3 separate regions of the Homo sapiens genome follow, and all the other regions are linked to region 1. Evidence: promoter capture Hi-C in 16 types of primary human blood cells and fetal thymus (Javierre and others, 2016). All regions are on one chromosome and are shown on one strand. The core of a region is centred on a gene start or on the middle of the fragment in contact, and the rest is flanking DNA. Distances in the headings are between cores, read along the strand shown. Region 1 holds the start of ST8SIA4 (ST8 alpha-N-acetyl-neuraminide alpha-2,8-sialyltransferase 4). Region 2 holds the start of PAM (peptidylglycine alpha-amidating monooxygenase). Region 3 overlaps SLCO4C1 (solute carrier organic anion transporter family member 4C1).

Region 1 (5,058 bases), core at 1,861-4,360:
TGCAAAATTGGTAGCAGAAAAGCTAAATATGAATCTGGGGTAGTGATGCAAGATTCAAGGACTATGGAAGGCCCTTCTTTGAAACTGCTGCCAAGCCACAAGGCTCGCAGTGCCCCCCAAAGGCCAGAGACTGCCTTGGTTACCTCACTTGAATACTGGACCGGGATCTGGAGCCGAACCTCCATTCCAGTTTACTCAAAACTCAAAACTGGCCTCTCCACGTGGCTTGGGTAGAAAGACAGTCAATGAGATGATTTGATGGTTTTATGAGTCAACTCCTCCACCAGAAGCGCTGTTTGGGAGTTGAAACGAAATAATGAGCTCGGGTCACAAGCTTTTCCACGAACCTTTCATCCTGGAGAAAAAGGAAAGTGCTCAGGGAGCCTAGCTGCCCTCGCATTGTTCCTGGCAGCTCCAACTCCTTGCACAGTCTTGGTCTCTCAGGAGACCAAGGCAGTCAGGACGCTACAGGGCACGGGTGTAAGCGCGACGTTCGCGGCCAGCCCTCTGCCTTGCCCCACTGTAATTGCGGGTTTTGATTAAGAAGGAGGAGCCAGTTGCCGACTGAGCTTTGAAAGTGACTTTGGGTGGGGGGTGGGGGTGGGGTGGGGGTGGAAGGAGGGGAGGGACCAAAAGAGCCTGAGTCCTGCAATAAAGGTTTCCCCCTATCTTCTCACTCATTCTTTCCCCCTCGCCGCCGGCGCTCTGGCAGCAGGGGATAACCCCGGTGCGCGCCTCTCTTCCTGTTTGGTTTACTCAAGCGCCTGCCCCAACGCCTTCTCAGTCAAGCTGGGAGGAAACTGCTTCAGCTTGAAAAGGATGCGGGCAAAAGCCCAGCCCGACTAGCTCAACCGCCGCGCCAGTGCCCGCCTCCTCTTCCTTAACGCCTAGGGCTGCGCCCACCAGCCGGCAACGTCCAGGAAAGGGCCACAGGAGAAATGACACCCGTGCAATGCGGAGTGTCCCGGCTCCGCTTCCCCGCAGGGACTCGAGGTGCGCTCCTTTTCCTGGCCACGGTTTAGGGAGGCTCGGAGATGGACACCTCGGCAGTATCTGGCGACCCTCTTCTCACTCGCTCCGCCCACTCCTGCTCTCCAGGGTCCCAGCCAAGGGCCCGAACCCTCGGAGTCCTAGTGAGCCTTGGCCGCTTTGTCTGGGATCAGGCTTATCCTCCTAGCCCACGGCCCGGGAGGGAACAAAGAGCCTCGACCCTCAAGCTCTAGCCTCTGCCTCTCATCGGAGCCCCATGCGCCCATTCATCACCTTTCTAAAGACCCCTTTGTCTGCCTGGCAAGCACAGGTCTGCAAGGGATGCCCACGCCCCTGCCCAAAGTCCTGCTTTTCTAACAACTGAGCTAGATTGGATTTTCAAGCCACCCAGTCTTGTGTAAACGACCTCATACCGGTCTTTTTTACCCCCTCAGAATAGACCATGTATAGATTCGTTGATGCATGACGACCATTCCAGCCCATTCCTTGCTAGCTTTTTCATTCTCTTCCAGTCCGCTTTGACTGTGCTACTGTTTTCCTGGTTTTCTACAGAATAGCAAGTCCTTCTGTAAGGATCAACCTGCATCTTGCTCGCTTAAATAAATGCTTATTACCTAGGGAGCAGGAATATTAAGAAATGGAGTGCAGGAAGTTTAAGAGCATGTGTGTGTGTTAGCAGTCCCATCTCTCTCTCTCTCACACACACATACACACACACGCAAGGGCTGTTTTCTTTGTTTTAATCAATGTCAGAGAAAAATATAAACTGGGCAGGCATCTCTGCTGGTGTGTAGTTTCTGATAGAGGACGCCTCCAAACCGGAACAGGGAGGATTTCCGAAACAGGACTTTGAATAGAGTTGACAATCAGGTTCACATCCTCAGAAAAAGCCTTCCAAGCTATGTCAGCAACACAAAGTTGCACCACCTCCTGGGTAAACTTCAAAGACACAGAGGCCAGCGGGTGGAAGGAAGTGTGATATTTAGAGAACTTAGTGGGGCGGGGGAGAGTCTGAACTCATCTAGACAAACTAAAAAAAATAGCAGAAATATAGTCTGTGTGAAGCTACAGTACCCAGTTTCTTTCTAAAACTGTAACCATGACGCCCATGCGTTTTAGCCGTAGAAGAACAAATAAGGAAGTATCCTTAGTGGTACTGGAGTTTCTAATTCAAATTATAACACATTAATCTATCCAACGTCAAATAGAAAAAAAAAAAGTAGAGAAACAGAGTATACCTATTTCCTGCTTTCTAAGCTTTAACTTCAGCCCTTCGAGAAACCATCTATCTCCAGTATCTCCTTAGGTGATAGGACATTGAAAACAGGCAACCGTTTGGTGAATAAAGACATTTCTCTTGAGTTCTGCCCACAGATTAAAAGGACAAGGACACACGTTCTTTGTTGACACTTCTGCAGTGACTTCTCCTTTGGCGAGAGAGCACCCAGGGCCAACACAACTGTCACCACAACCACACAGAGCAAGTTGAACTCATACTGGGAACAGCTTAGAGAAGCACGCACATCTCAACAACAGCCTTTGTTATTTAATTCATGACACTAACCACGCGCAAGCTCAAACAAACACACATGCTATCCTAACCATCACTCTACCCTCTATATTCACATTTCATTTATGGCTTGACTTTTTGTCATATCCTGAAATGAAGCTTTGCATTTACCCGATGAGTTGCGTCTCCTGGTGCTCCTCAGTTCTTGCTATTTCTTTTGTCTTATAAAAGATCAGGAGCAGACTTATTGTGCAGATCGTCCACCTCTTCCTAATGGAGCGCATCTTGGGTGCCCGAGAAAGTCCTGGTTGCCCCAGCTCCCGCACCTTCTCTTGATATAAAGGCTCCGTTTTGGGGAGATAGTCGCGGGGGTGAAATCTGTAAAATGCGAGGAGAGCTTGGAGCCGGGATCCCGGGATCAGATCACTGGGGTCTTCTGTGGCCGAGCTCCCTCTGGTCCTCGAACGCTGCCCAGCGACCTCTCGCCCTGTTTGCGCCAGCTCTGCCAGGGTCGCTCCGCGCCGCCTCCCTGGGGCTCAGGTTTCTTTTCAGATGAGACACCTTGTGCATTGGAGGTGGCGGCAGCTTCTGCAGCTGGGTTCGGGGGCGTCACTGGCCCTTCCCTCTTGCTAGGAGATAAACGCTGCGCAAAGCCAATCACCAGGCTGAGGGGGCGGAGGCTGCTTGGAGAGTAACGTCCCCGGCTCTGCCTGCTCTGTGCCGGGAGAGGAAGCTCACAGTGCTACGCGCCTGCGAGCTCGCGCACATACACATATACATACATACACACATACATACATATGCACACACACGTACACGCAGAATCACACACACTCTCCTGGGACATCAAAGCATCAGCTCTCTGGACCTGGGAGCTCCAAGATAGTCTATCCGCATCTAGGTGAGAGGGCACCTCGCCTGGGGACAGATTACAAAAGCGTCCCGCCAGAGGAATGCTTCAGGTAGAGCTAGGGGTGGATTGCAAGAAGAGTACCTTCTTTCAATCGCTTTTGCTAAACACACACCCTCACACGCAAAAACACGCCCTCCAAGGTGGAGTGAAACGGGGTGCGGGGGTGGGGACGGCGGTGGAAGGAAGAAGACTTTTATTACTCAATCTGGAAAGTGCAAATACACACATGAACCTGTTAGCCGATGGGCCCACTCTGCATGGGTGGTGGACGACGACCCTGGCTCAGGATTCTGCAGGAAACAAGTGATGATAGAGGTGTCATTAGGAACTTTATGGATATTTATGCGCCTCCCTTTCATTGCCATTTGGAAACTCCTCACGCAGAAGTCAAGGAAACTCCAATCCCACTTAAACTTCATTGCGGAGAAACAGAGTTCTGAAAAAAAAGCAGCTACCATGGACCTCTCTTTTAAACGCAAGTACACCCACACACATTCGGATACCAAGGAAGGAAGGAAAGAAAGAAAGGAAAGAAAAGGGAGGGGAGGAAGGAAGAGCAAAGTCCTCTCTAAAAGTCTCAATTATATATATAGCCTCTGATTGTCACCTCTCCTCCGTCCCACCATTTTTCGTACTTGTATTGGGTGGCAGGGACACTTTTCAAGAGTTCTGTGTTCGATTGTTCACTCTGAGTACCTCTCCACCATCCTCCAGTCGTTGCCCTCATTGGGAGAGATGCTTGCTACTCTGCTAGTACCACGCCTTGGTTCCGGTCTTTACTGTTGGCTGGTAGGTCGGGAGGCACCTCTAGCATGAGACAGTGTCTGGAAGCCAGGATTTCCCTCATCTATATGCGCCGGTCCCCAGCTCCCTGGTCGCCAGGGTTTCTCTCCAGTTGAATTCCGTGTTCCTTCAGGTTGAACAGTAGCTTCAGCGGTTTTTCACGCTCAGAAATGATGAGGCCCAATTCCAATCTTCCCTCCCGCCGGAAGTAAGAAGGGGAATTCTGAGTTGCTTGTCGCCTGACAGCTTAAAATAGCAACGAAAACAGCCAGCATCTTTGCTTAAAAACCCAAGGTTCCCGCCAGTGTTTACCATACTTCCTCTAGAGTTTAAGAAGTTAAGAACTTCCGAGATCTTGAATTTCCTCTTTGCAGCACAGCGAACGGGGTCGGGTATAAAAATGCTCCAAGGAGCAAGTAATTACGAACGTTTATTGACACTACAAGTGGCCCACAGGGAGCCTTTCGAGTTTATTGATGTCTAGGCAAATCCAGCCTGCATTAATGCATTTCTGTTAGATTGACTTCTGTTAGACTCACTTTTCTTCTGGCAAAAACTGCCAGAATAAAACAGCTTCTTATTTAAGTTAAAAGGGATCCGGGGCTGAGGGCAGGGGTCGGGTGGGAGAGGGATGCATGGTTAGGATGCTAAATTCTCAAGGATAAACTTTGATTTTTAAACAGTAGACAACTATATTTTAGATTATAGGTAAAACATCACTCTCTGTCAGGGATAGAGTAATATGCATCGTTTCATTAAACTCATTATTTCTTAAGCAATGGTTATGGGGCAGGCAATGTGTGCGGAGATGGGAACACAAAGATGAATAAAACTTAGCATCTAGTCAGACACAAATCCTACT
Region 2 (5,058 bases), core at 1,605-4,104, 1.9 Mb after region 1:
GCACCAATCAGCACTCTGTATCTAGCTAATCTGGTGGGGACCTGGAGAATCTTTATGTCTAGCTAAGGGATTGTGAATACACCAATCAGCACTCTGTGTCTAGCTCAAGGTTTGTAAATGCATCAATCAGCACCCTGTGTCTAGCTCAAGGTTTGTAAATCCACCAATCAGTACTCTGTATCTAGCTGATCTGGTGGGGACTTGGAGAACCTTTATGTCTAGCTAAGAGATTGTGAATACACTAATCAGCACTCTGTATCTAGCTAATCTAGTGGGACTTGGAGAACTTTTGTGTCTAACTCAGGGATTGTAAACGCACCAATCAGCACCCTGTCAAAACGGACCAATCAGCTCTCTGTAAAACAGACCAATCAGCTCTCTGTAAAATGGACCAATCAGCAGGATGTGCGTGGGGCCAGATAAGGGACTAAAAGCAGGCTGCCCCAGTAGCAACTCGCTGGGGTCCCTTTCTACACTGGAGAAGCTTTGCTCTTTTGCTCTTTGCAATAAATCTTGCTGCTGCTCACTTTTTGGGTCCACACTGCCTTTATGAGCTGTAACACTCACCACGAAGGTCTGCAGCTTCACTCCTGAGCCAGTGAGACCACGAACCCACCAGAAGGAAGAAACTCCAAACACATCCAAACATCAGAAGGAACAAACTCCAGACATGCTGCCTTTAAGAACTGTAACACTCACAGAGAGGGTCCGCGGCTTCATTCTTGAAGTCAGTGAGACCAAGAACTCACCAATTCCAGACACACCAGGACCTTGAGGGTGTGAGAGGTTACCGTCAGGTTACATTTAGAAGTGTTGTCCCAACTACTCTCCCACATTTAAGGCAAAAATATAGTCACCACTGAACAAGAAAATCATCTTGGCACAAAAATGTACTGAATTGAAGAAAGAAAACAAAGAGAAACAAAACACCATAGCCTAGAACTCCTGCCCCTCCACATTTTCTTCTCTCTCTCACACCACAAACTTTCTCTCTGTGACACACACACACACACACACACAGAGGAGAGACGTATTTGAGGGAGGGTCTCAAGTGCTTGCTTTCCTTAACAACCCAGACCAGGAGGAAGAGATAAAGTGACTTAGGAGATGCCTAAAGATGAAGAACAGCCCGGGATCCGTAAACAGACTCAGCTCGGTGTCTTCTCGCACCTTCTCAGAATCAAGTTTCCAAAATGAGGGTCATCCGCCTGCCTTGGAATTTGGGTTGGGAAGTGGATGGAGTTCCTGGACACATGCTCTAGGCCCTGACCAGTCTGGCCACTGCTCACTAGGAATTCTGTTGGGAGGGTGTACAACAGATTTTCCAACTGGTCTACAGCGAGCATCGGTAGTTTCCCTATGGAGAAAATGATTTTCTTTCTGGGAATCCCCCTATAGCCTGAAGGCTTTGCCTCATTTCCCATAGCTCCTCTCCGGTGTACCCCTTCGGTTCGCACTTTCCTACCTTCTTCCCAGTCCACTGGCTTCTCCTTCTTTATCTTCCTCAGTGTCCCTTCTCACAACCTCCCTGCTACCACACCAGATTCTGAAGGGGAGGAGTTGTCTGGAAAGACCAGAGCTGGGTGCTGGGGATCTGGAGCAGCTCGGGACCCGCGCTGCAGGGAGCTGGGATGGGAGAGGTGAGGGAGAGGAGGATGGGACTCTGGGAGAAAGAGAGGGGGCTGGGCTGGCGCTGGGGATGGAAGAGGCGAGGTGAACGCACTCAAGCGGTTACCTGCAGACAGGGAGAGACAGTGGCAAATACCTGCCTTCAATTAAACGCATATCAATTTGTGTGTGGGGTCAGTACTGCACATCATCAAGCCTCTTGGGTATAAAACCTTCCTACTGGAACTCTCCAGCCCCGCCCCCACCACCCCACGCGCGGCTCCCTGCTTTCTCTTGCTTTGGGGTGAGGCTGGGGATGTGGGTGGCTCCAGAGTTCCCTGCCCGCAGTTTAGGGGCGAAGTGATCGGTGTGTGCGCGCTGGGCACTCTGCGGGTTAAAAAGGTTTAGCAGAAAGGGATGCAGATGGAGGCGGGAAGCCAGGCTAAGAAAGGGATACCGACCTCCCTCCTCGGGTCGGAGGTGTGAACTGGGAAGCACTGCGCAGACCTGAGCGAGGTGGCCTGAATCCAGGGGCCGGGCAAGGGGGTGGTGTGAATAGAAATAGCACATTTCCCAGGCTTTCAGCCCCGGTACTCTGCCATCCTTCCAGTTCCATGCACTCAGCCAGGTCTCCAGGCTGGAGCAAGGGCTGGGGGTCAATGGGTCCTTCCTTCTCTCGGGAAACGTTCTTCTGGCGCGAAGCTGGGCGGAGGGAGAGTCGGACATTTTCCTCTGCTTCTCTCAGGGCAGCTGGCGTGGCCACCTCGCAAGGCTGCTTCTAGGGACACGAGACTCGGGAGGGTCAGAGACTTTCAGGCCGGGCCTTCACTCCCTTCCCCGGGGCACTTGGGCAAGAGTTCCAGCTCTTGGCTACCTCTGGCCCGCGCGTGAGTTCAGACACCCAGCACACGCGACCCCCGCAGGGAAACCCCGGGAAGCTGCGCGCAATCGCTGGGGACTCGCCAGGGCTCCACTTCCCAAGCTCCGCGCCCCCTGCGCCCAAAGAGGCAGGGCGGAGCAGAGGCCGCCGGCGTGGAGGAGGCGAGCGCGGGGCTGGCCCGGGAGCCGCCCCCGGGGAGGGACTGAGACCTGCCCCAGGAGTCGAGGGCGAGCGGCGGACCCGGCTGGGCCCGGCGCACGCCGAGGAGAGGGAGCCCCCGCCACCGCCGCTGCCTCCGCGTGCTCAGCCTGTCCCCGCCCAGGGAGCCGGAGCCTCCAACTAACTCCGCCCGCCGCTCCGCCGCCCGCAGGCTCCGGCTTCCGTCCCGGACAGAGCCCGTGGTCGCGCAGGTTGGTGTTGTTGCCGCTGCTGCCGCCACTGCGAGGCGGTCAGGGCAAGGGTGAGGGTGGGGGCGCGGAAGGGGGCCTGGGCTCGGGATCCTGCTGCCACCAATTCCTGGTGCCCCAGGAGGTTGTTGCTTTTTCTCCCGGGCTGCCCGGGTCGGGGGTGGGGGGATGGGGCGGGGATCCAGCGATGCGGCCAGGGAGGATTTTGGGGACTGAGCTATTCTCGCATTTCCCAAACCTCTCTCACGACCCTTCATCACCATTATTAAGTCCCTGGCCAGTTTGTGAGGGGTCGTCCTCCCCTCCGGTCCTTCTCACCTCCGCACTTCTCCTTGTGCCCTCTCCCTAGGGGGTACAATTTGTTCATTCGCCTTTTCTGCCCCCAACTTGGAGAACTCTCCGTGACGCCTAGAAAGCCTCCTCGGTTCTCCGCCCGCCCTTCAGTCTAGTTTGGGGAAGTAGAGGCCGCCGCGGAGTAGCAACCTGGGGTGTGGAGTGGGGGCGAGTGCCGGGAAGCAGTGGAAATTCCTTCCCCTCTTTCTTTCCCGTCCTTGCCCAGCTTTGCTCTCTTCCTGCCGTTTTGCCAGCCTCCGAATGTAATACGCGGGCGAAGGGCGATCTCCAAGGCAGAATGGGAAGTATCCACCACTTGGGATACTAGTTAAGTCTAGGTTCAGTCACCTTCCCAGCTCTGTGGCCTTGGGACCCGCCCCATCGGAACCTGTATGTTGTCATCTGCAAAATATGCGTCAGCTCTGCCTGCCGCTGAGGGTAGTTGTGGGGCTCCCTTGGGATGACTTAGGGTATTACGTGATTTTGAGCACGGTCTCTTGTCTCGTGCAGCTGCCTGATGGCAGGTCCTGTGTTCTGATCGTCTGAGTTCAGGTCCTTTGGCTGAGATGTGATTATCTCTCTGGGTGATTTGGTCAGTAGCTTTGCGGGGCTAAAAGGCATGTGTTCCTGGAGCTGGTCATTGGGGTTCAGAGTTGAAATCGTGTCGTCCCCACCAATCCCTGTGTACAAAGCTATGGACCTTACATCCTGTGCCTTTGTGGTCATAGAAATTCAAGTAGAAGGAAGATCTTATTGGACTTTGTTTGCTTCAGATGTTTTACATTCTTTACAATCGCTTTTCTCTTCTAGGTGCAAACTTAAATTTACTGCTAATTCTAATAATCCAGGAAGGATACTTTCATTTTAGTAAAATCAGACATTTAGCTCAAATAACATGTGACATATTGTTTGTAAATTTTCAGTTTATAATCACAGGCACAAAAAAGCATAGTTCATGCCATTCTAGTTACTTTATAAAGCAAGTAAATGGCCTAAAAAATCAGCTTTACAGGAAGTCAGGGCTGCAGTGAACTGTGTTTATACCACTGCACTCCAGCCTCGGTGACAGAGCAAGACCCTGTCTCAAAAATAAATAATCAGCTTTAGAATTGATATTAAATGGTAAGCCCTGTCGTTCCTGCATTCCTGACTTAATAGGCATTTTCATTCCGCGATGCACTCTGCTATATGCTTTAAAGATATAAAGATATAGAGTATGTTCCTTGTCCTGAAGGGCCTTCCAAGGTAACTTAAAGACTATGTAGTTTTATTTCATATTTTTATATGAACAGTCTTCTAATGACTATACATGGCAAGTAGAATGAGGTCAAGAATGCATTATCAAAGGCCCTTTAAGATCATCATTTGGCCGGCTGCGGTGGCTCACGCCTGTAATCCCAGCACTTTGGGAGGCCGAGGCGGGCAAATCACAAGGTCAGAAGTTCCGTACCAGCCTGGCCGACATGGTGAAATCCCATCTCTACTAAAAATACAAAAAATTACTTGGGCATAGTGGCAGGCACCTGTAATCCCAGCTACTTGGGAGACTGAGGCAGGAGAATCGCTTGAACCTGGGAGGTGGAGGTTTCAGTGAGCTGAGATCACTCCACACACTCCAGCCCTGGTGACAGAGTGAGACTCTCTCAAAAAAAGATAAAACTAAATAAATAAATAGATAAAAAATCATTTGGTGAGTTTGCATAATTGGAAGAAATAACAAGTTTGTTAAGACATTGCTTTCTAAAATAAAATGCCATGTGCTCCTACTTCATCAAGGTGCACTTGGAAATAAAATGAATTCTGTGTTTTTAGAATGAAAGCTTAGGAAAA
Region 3 (5,058 bases), core at 1,528-4,027, 1.4 Mb after region 1:
TTATGGAAAATGTGGACAGAGAATCCCAAATTGCCTTTATCTGCCATTACCTACTCTTACTGTCTTCTGTGGAAGGACAAGGCATTAGGCTCTTAATATACCTCATCAAAGGACTCCATTCATTAATATATGTGACAACTCAACAAATAGTTCTTAAGGACCTAGTCTATATCACATGCTGTTCTAGGTGCTGATCATAATAAAGTTTCTAAACTCAACAAGGGCTTTCAAATTCACATAGTTAAACCTAAAGCAGATAGAGCAGATTTTACCAAAGTGTGTTCACTGCCTCATTTACCTAGAGGAAGACAAAGTAAGGGGCGAAAGCAGGATGAAGGGGACAAGTATAACAACGGAGCCTCTTCATCAACTCTACATATCATACCCCTAACTAAAGATTCACAGAATGCATTTGCTTTATAGTGCTGCAATAAAGACAACTGCTTAGCGTTCTTCTTTTTTTTTTTTCCAAACTCATTCAACCATTGAACACATTTTTAACATATTCCTAATGCCTCTAGAAACTGTTCTCTGCAGATAGTACTTTCAGAAATGTTTGGACATGTTTTTCTCTTGCTAAAGGACATGGATTTTTTAAACCTCTACCTACCAGCAAACTATAGCTTGTAATGAGAATGAGTTTGTGCTAAAATTTCATTGACACATTTTTTTCCTACTTATTTTTCTCTGTAAGTTTCCTCTATTTCAGAAGTTTGGTCATTTGCATTTCAACAAAACTGGCTGCATTAGAGCACCTAGCATTTCATGATGATTGTGAAACTCCTATTTTAAAGGAAGACATAAAGCAATAATCTGGAAAGGAAAAGAAACCTTTCTCTCTATATCCACAGTTAGAAGCTTTACAAAGTAATCAGACACTAAAATGGACATGTATGTCCTAAATTAGACTAAGATAACCTGGGTAATTTTTTAAAAATATTGATTGAGTCCTACTCCAAACTTACTGAATCAGGATTTCCAAGAGGCAGTATTAAACAGGAATAGCAACCATCCAGGATAATTCATATATATACATACACACACACACACACACACACACACAAATATATACACACATATATACACACACACACACATATATATTTTTTTTTGTTTGTTTGTTTTTGAGACGAAGTCTCACACTGTTGCCCAGGCTGGAGTGCAGTGTCCCGATCTCAGCTCCCTGCAACCTCCGCCTCCTGGGTTCAAGTGATTCTCCTGCCTCAGCCTCCCAAGTATCTGGGATTACAGGTGCCTGCCACCATGCCCGGCTAATTTTTGTGTTTTTAGTAGGGACAGGGTTTCACCATGTTGGCCAGGCTGGTCTCAAACTCCTGGCCTCAAGTAATCCACCCACCTCAGCCTCCCAAAGTGCTGGGATTACAGGTGTGAGCCATTGAGCCTGGCTCAGGGTAATTCATATTATCTAGGAAGTATGAGAAAGACTGAAAAGCCTCTGATATAAAAAATTGTGATAGTTTTATCTAGAGCATTAACTATTGCTAAAAGGTAGCTCTAGGCCTTTTACTGTATGTATTAAATTTAAAATTGAATCATTTGTTTTATTACACCATTATAGCTTCTAATCTAAAAAAATCACCTCTTCTTATTACTCCTTTATTCATTTCAGTTACAAAGAAGTAAAATTTAAGAAAAATAAGTGACTTCCGTAAAGTAAAAAATAATATCAAAAAAGGAAAAACACTCAGAGGCCAAGCAAAATTAAAGCTTCCTGTATTGAATTTGTGCTTGAAAACCTCTAAAATTCTTTGCCCTAGGTCTTCTCAAATCTAGGCAAGCATTCCATTAAAGAAAAAAGTATTCTAAGAAAAAAAGATAAAATAGTAACCAGAAGTAAAGTCCACTTTGAGTCCTACTGTAATCATTTTCCTAGCACAGCTTTTGTAAGTAGTTACCAAGCATAACCAAAGTCCTTTGATGAAGCATTCTCTCTCAAATGCCAATAAAAAAAAAATTAGAAATTTAGTGCTACAGCTAATGTGAATTTTTATCATTTAAGGTTTCTTTGAGGGAAAGGAGATGGAAAAGAGAAACAAAGATATAGTGCAACGTAGGAAAAATTATCTAATTATTGGTCAATAAATAAAAAGAGCTTTACTAGGCTAAGTAACTACTTTTCTACAATTCCTCAGTATTTAATAATGCCTCTCTCCCAAAGTCTCAAAGAGACATAAAGATTATTTTGCATGGTAACATTAAAATAACACTCATCTAAAAGAAATTAAGATTGCTTAGATGAAAAAAATGTTACGTGGTAAAGATTTACTTATCGCATTTTAAATATTTTAAAGTCATACTACAATATGTTGTGTCATATTAATATTATGTTGAAGTAAGTCAAAATGAATGTCAAATATGACTTATTTAAAAGTGTTTTGACACTATGTTTGGGTTAACTTGTACAAAAAATTAGCCCTTAATAGCATGTATTTGTTCCTCTTAATTTTAATACTACCTCTTTTTTTAGTCCAGTAACAACCACAACTTCCCTTTGATCATCTCCATTCAAAGTTAATCACCTCTAATGCTTATGTCTTTCTAAAAGCTTCCCTTAAAAAAACACTTTCTCTCCAACCTACTTAAATTTATTGTTTACAACACAATAGAAAGTCCACGCTGTTTCAAAATATATCTTCTTAACTTTTGTTCTTAACGTTCTTTTGTGTTATTCTCACACCTGTAGAAATCATACATGTTTATCATATTTTATGTTTTTTTCTACTTACTAGCTATATTACTTTAGTTTCCTCTTACAGAGATTATCCCATCCAAAGTGAGCCCTGATTTTGATTTCCCTTAAGAACAACAGAAAAAGCACAGAAGGGTATGTTAATTTCCTCACTGTCCATCTTAAATTAAATTACATGTATAATTTCAATTAATAAAATCATTTATTAATATTATGCTCTATGTTATGTTAAGTTACTTAAGAAGATTACACATCCCCTTGCCTCTAATTAATTTACAGGAAGCTTTCAACTAATCTGTTTTCTTTTTGCAGTTTCCTTTTCCTAAGTTTTCTTCTCTACTCTCCCTAAAGTTTGACAAATAATTCAGATTTTTCGTTATAGATTCCCATACTTGCAAAAGTAGATTAATATAGACCACTGTACCTGACTACTAGAAGTTGGGGAAGAAATGCTTGAAATTCATAAAAAATATTAAAATCATTCAATATAGTTAATAACTTAGTATGAGTAATAAGCATACACTTTTGAAAAACAATAAACAAACCATAAAAATTAGGATTAGTTTTAGTTGTTGTTAACCATCTGTGAAATCAATTCACCTCTTGCCCTAAGGCTTACACTATAAAAAGAAGAGGTTTTTTCACTTCTTTTTTTTTTTTTTTTTTTTTTTGAGATGGAGTCTCTGCTCTGTCACCCAGGCTGGATGGAGTGCAATGGTACGGTTTCAGCTCACTGCAACCTCGGCCTCCCTGCTTCAAGCATTTCTCCTGCCTCAGGCTCCCAAGTAGCTGGGACTACAGGCATATGCCACCACACATGGCTAATTTTTTTTTTCTTTTTGTATTTTTAGTAGAGACGGGGTTTCACTGTGTTGGCCAGGCTGGTTTCGAACTCCTGACCTTGTGATCCGCCCACCTTGGCCTCCAAAAGTGCTGGGATTACAGGCATGAGTCATTGCGCCCGGCCAGGTTTTATCATTTCTAACATCCCTTCCGTTTCTAAATGTCTGAATTCCTTTAAATGTGTAATGCAATTTCAATCCTGAATTTTGTGTCTGTCATATTATAAACACCTACACATACCACAATGACACTTCTGTTAAGAAAAATCACAGGGGAAAAAAATGCAAAAATTCAACACAACAGTGATGCATTTTCATTCACCAACAATGGGAGAGTAACTAATATATCCCTTCCTGAAAGTCAGTGTGACATTATCTATCAAAAACTAGAATGAGGAAGGCCTTCAAATTCAGTATTTGCACTTCTAGGAATCAAACCAAGTGAATGACTTGCACATTTATGTAAACACGTATTTTGGGGATATACACTGCAACACTGGATATATAATATGCAGTTCATACTAAAAAACTCCAAACCCGAATTCTTAATTTCATTCTAATTCTGTTCTACCTAGTCTTCCACCTTCTAGTAAAAACGGCCCCAGCTGATCAAGCCAAATACCAAGGACTCCTTCATTCCTCCTTCACAATATATCCAACAGAGTCCTATTTCTTTTTCCTATAAAACACACTGAGAATCATTCATCTTCTGGATCTCTGCTGCTACCACCCCAGTCTCAGCCACATTTATCTCCCACCTGGACTACAATAAAAATTTCCAGAGTGATTGGCTCCCATTTACTCTTGTCTCTTAAACTCCAGTAAGATCATGCACTTCCCTGTATAAAACTCTTCCACAACTTTGCATTGCATTTCAAGCACAATCTAAATGCCTCCCTAGTGTCTACCTGCCTCTCCAAAACAGCCTCCCTTGCTTTGACAATGCTGACCAAAACGGACTATTCCTAAAACCTACCAAGCCCTCCTCTGCTCCAAAGCCCTTAACCATATTTTTCTCCAGCCTGGAAATTATCTTTCAAGGTTAGCTCTTCACTATCCAGATATTATCACTGTAGCCTTTCCTGGCAATCATACTTAACCTTTAACACAGTATTACTTCATTCTATTTGTCTCTTTACCCACTCACCTCAATTTTCAATTATCTTGTTCATTTGTTTATTAATTGCATATTTCTTCCCACTAGTACATAAAATCCAGATGGCATGGAACTGTTTTACTGGTGTTATCTCAACACCATGTGTAGTCCATATCAATAAATATATATTGTATGAATGGCAGAATAACAGGAGGGCAAGCTGAGTTTTTGCTTTCATTTGCCACATTTAAGCTATTATTTAAATTATGAGTCAATTTACAGTAAAAATCTTAGATCAGCCAATTCCTCTAACCTATTTCAATAATCTACTAAAATAATGAAAAATGTTAATTAGATCAATAAGAACTTGGTGAAAACCTGCACAGTACACTACTAAAAGTTTATGATCT

What was found. The method cuts DNA at HindIII sites, captures the fragments that hold promoters and counts their contacts. A CHiCAGO score of 5 or more calls a contact.
Region 2: the fragment with the promoter of PAM here is called in contact with the fragment with the promoter of ST8SIA4 in region 1 in 1 of 17 cell types (non-activated CD4 T cells); the score reaches 5.4 in non-activated CD4 T cells.
Region 3: a fragment that was not itself captured here is called in contact with the fragment with the promoter of ST8SIA4 in region 1 in 1 of 17 cell types (M2 macrophages); the score reaches 6.1 in M2 macrophages.

Annotation. Positions count from the first base shown.
Region 1 is chr5:100,900,172-100,905,229 of GRCh38, forward strand. ST8SIA4 (ST8 alpha-N-acetyl-neuraminide alpha-2,8-sialyltransferase 4) reads right to left here and starts at 3,111. Exons shown (of 5, transcript NM_005668.6): 1 at 2,672-3,111. The coding sequence starts at 2,784. It overlaps LOC107986437 (a long non-coding RNA gene), which reads left to right and starts at 3,237. Exons shown (of 2, transcript XR_001742825.3): 1 at 3,237-5,058. RefSeq lists enhancers at 234-453, 560-1,061, 2,199-2,768, 3,254-3,493, 4,274-4,513. The HindIII fragment of the contact is 2,860 bases long and covers 2,658-5,058 here.
Region 2 is chr5:102,752,451-102,757,508 of GRCh38, forward strand. PAM (peptidylglycine alpha-amidating monooxygenase) reads left to right here and starts at 2,855. Exons shown (of 26, transcript NM_001177306.2): 1 at 2,855-2,898. RefSeq lists enhancers at 1,884-2,409, 3,417-3,917, 3,489-3,578 and a silencer at 2,549-3,098. The HindIII fragment of the contact is 4,564 bases long and covers 483-5,046 here.
Region 3 is chr5:102,284,177-102,289,234 of GRCh38, forward strand. All of the region lies in intron 2 of SLCO4C1 (solute carrier organic anion transporter family member 4C1), which reads right to left. Among named protein-coding and RNA genes, the nearest start is that of SLCO4C1, 9.6 kb to the right of the region's middle. The HindIII fragment of the contact is 427 bases long and covers 2,565-2,991 here.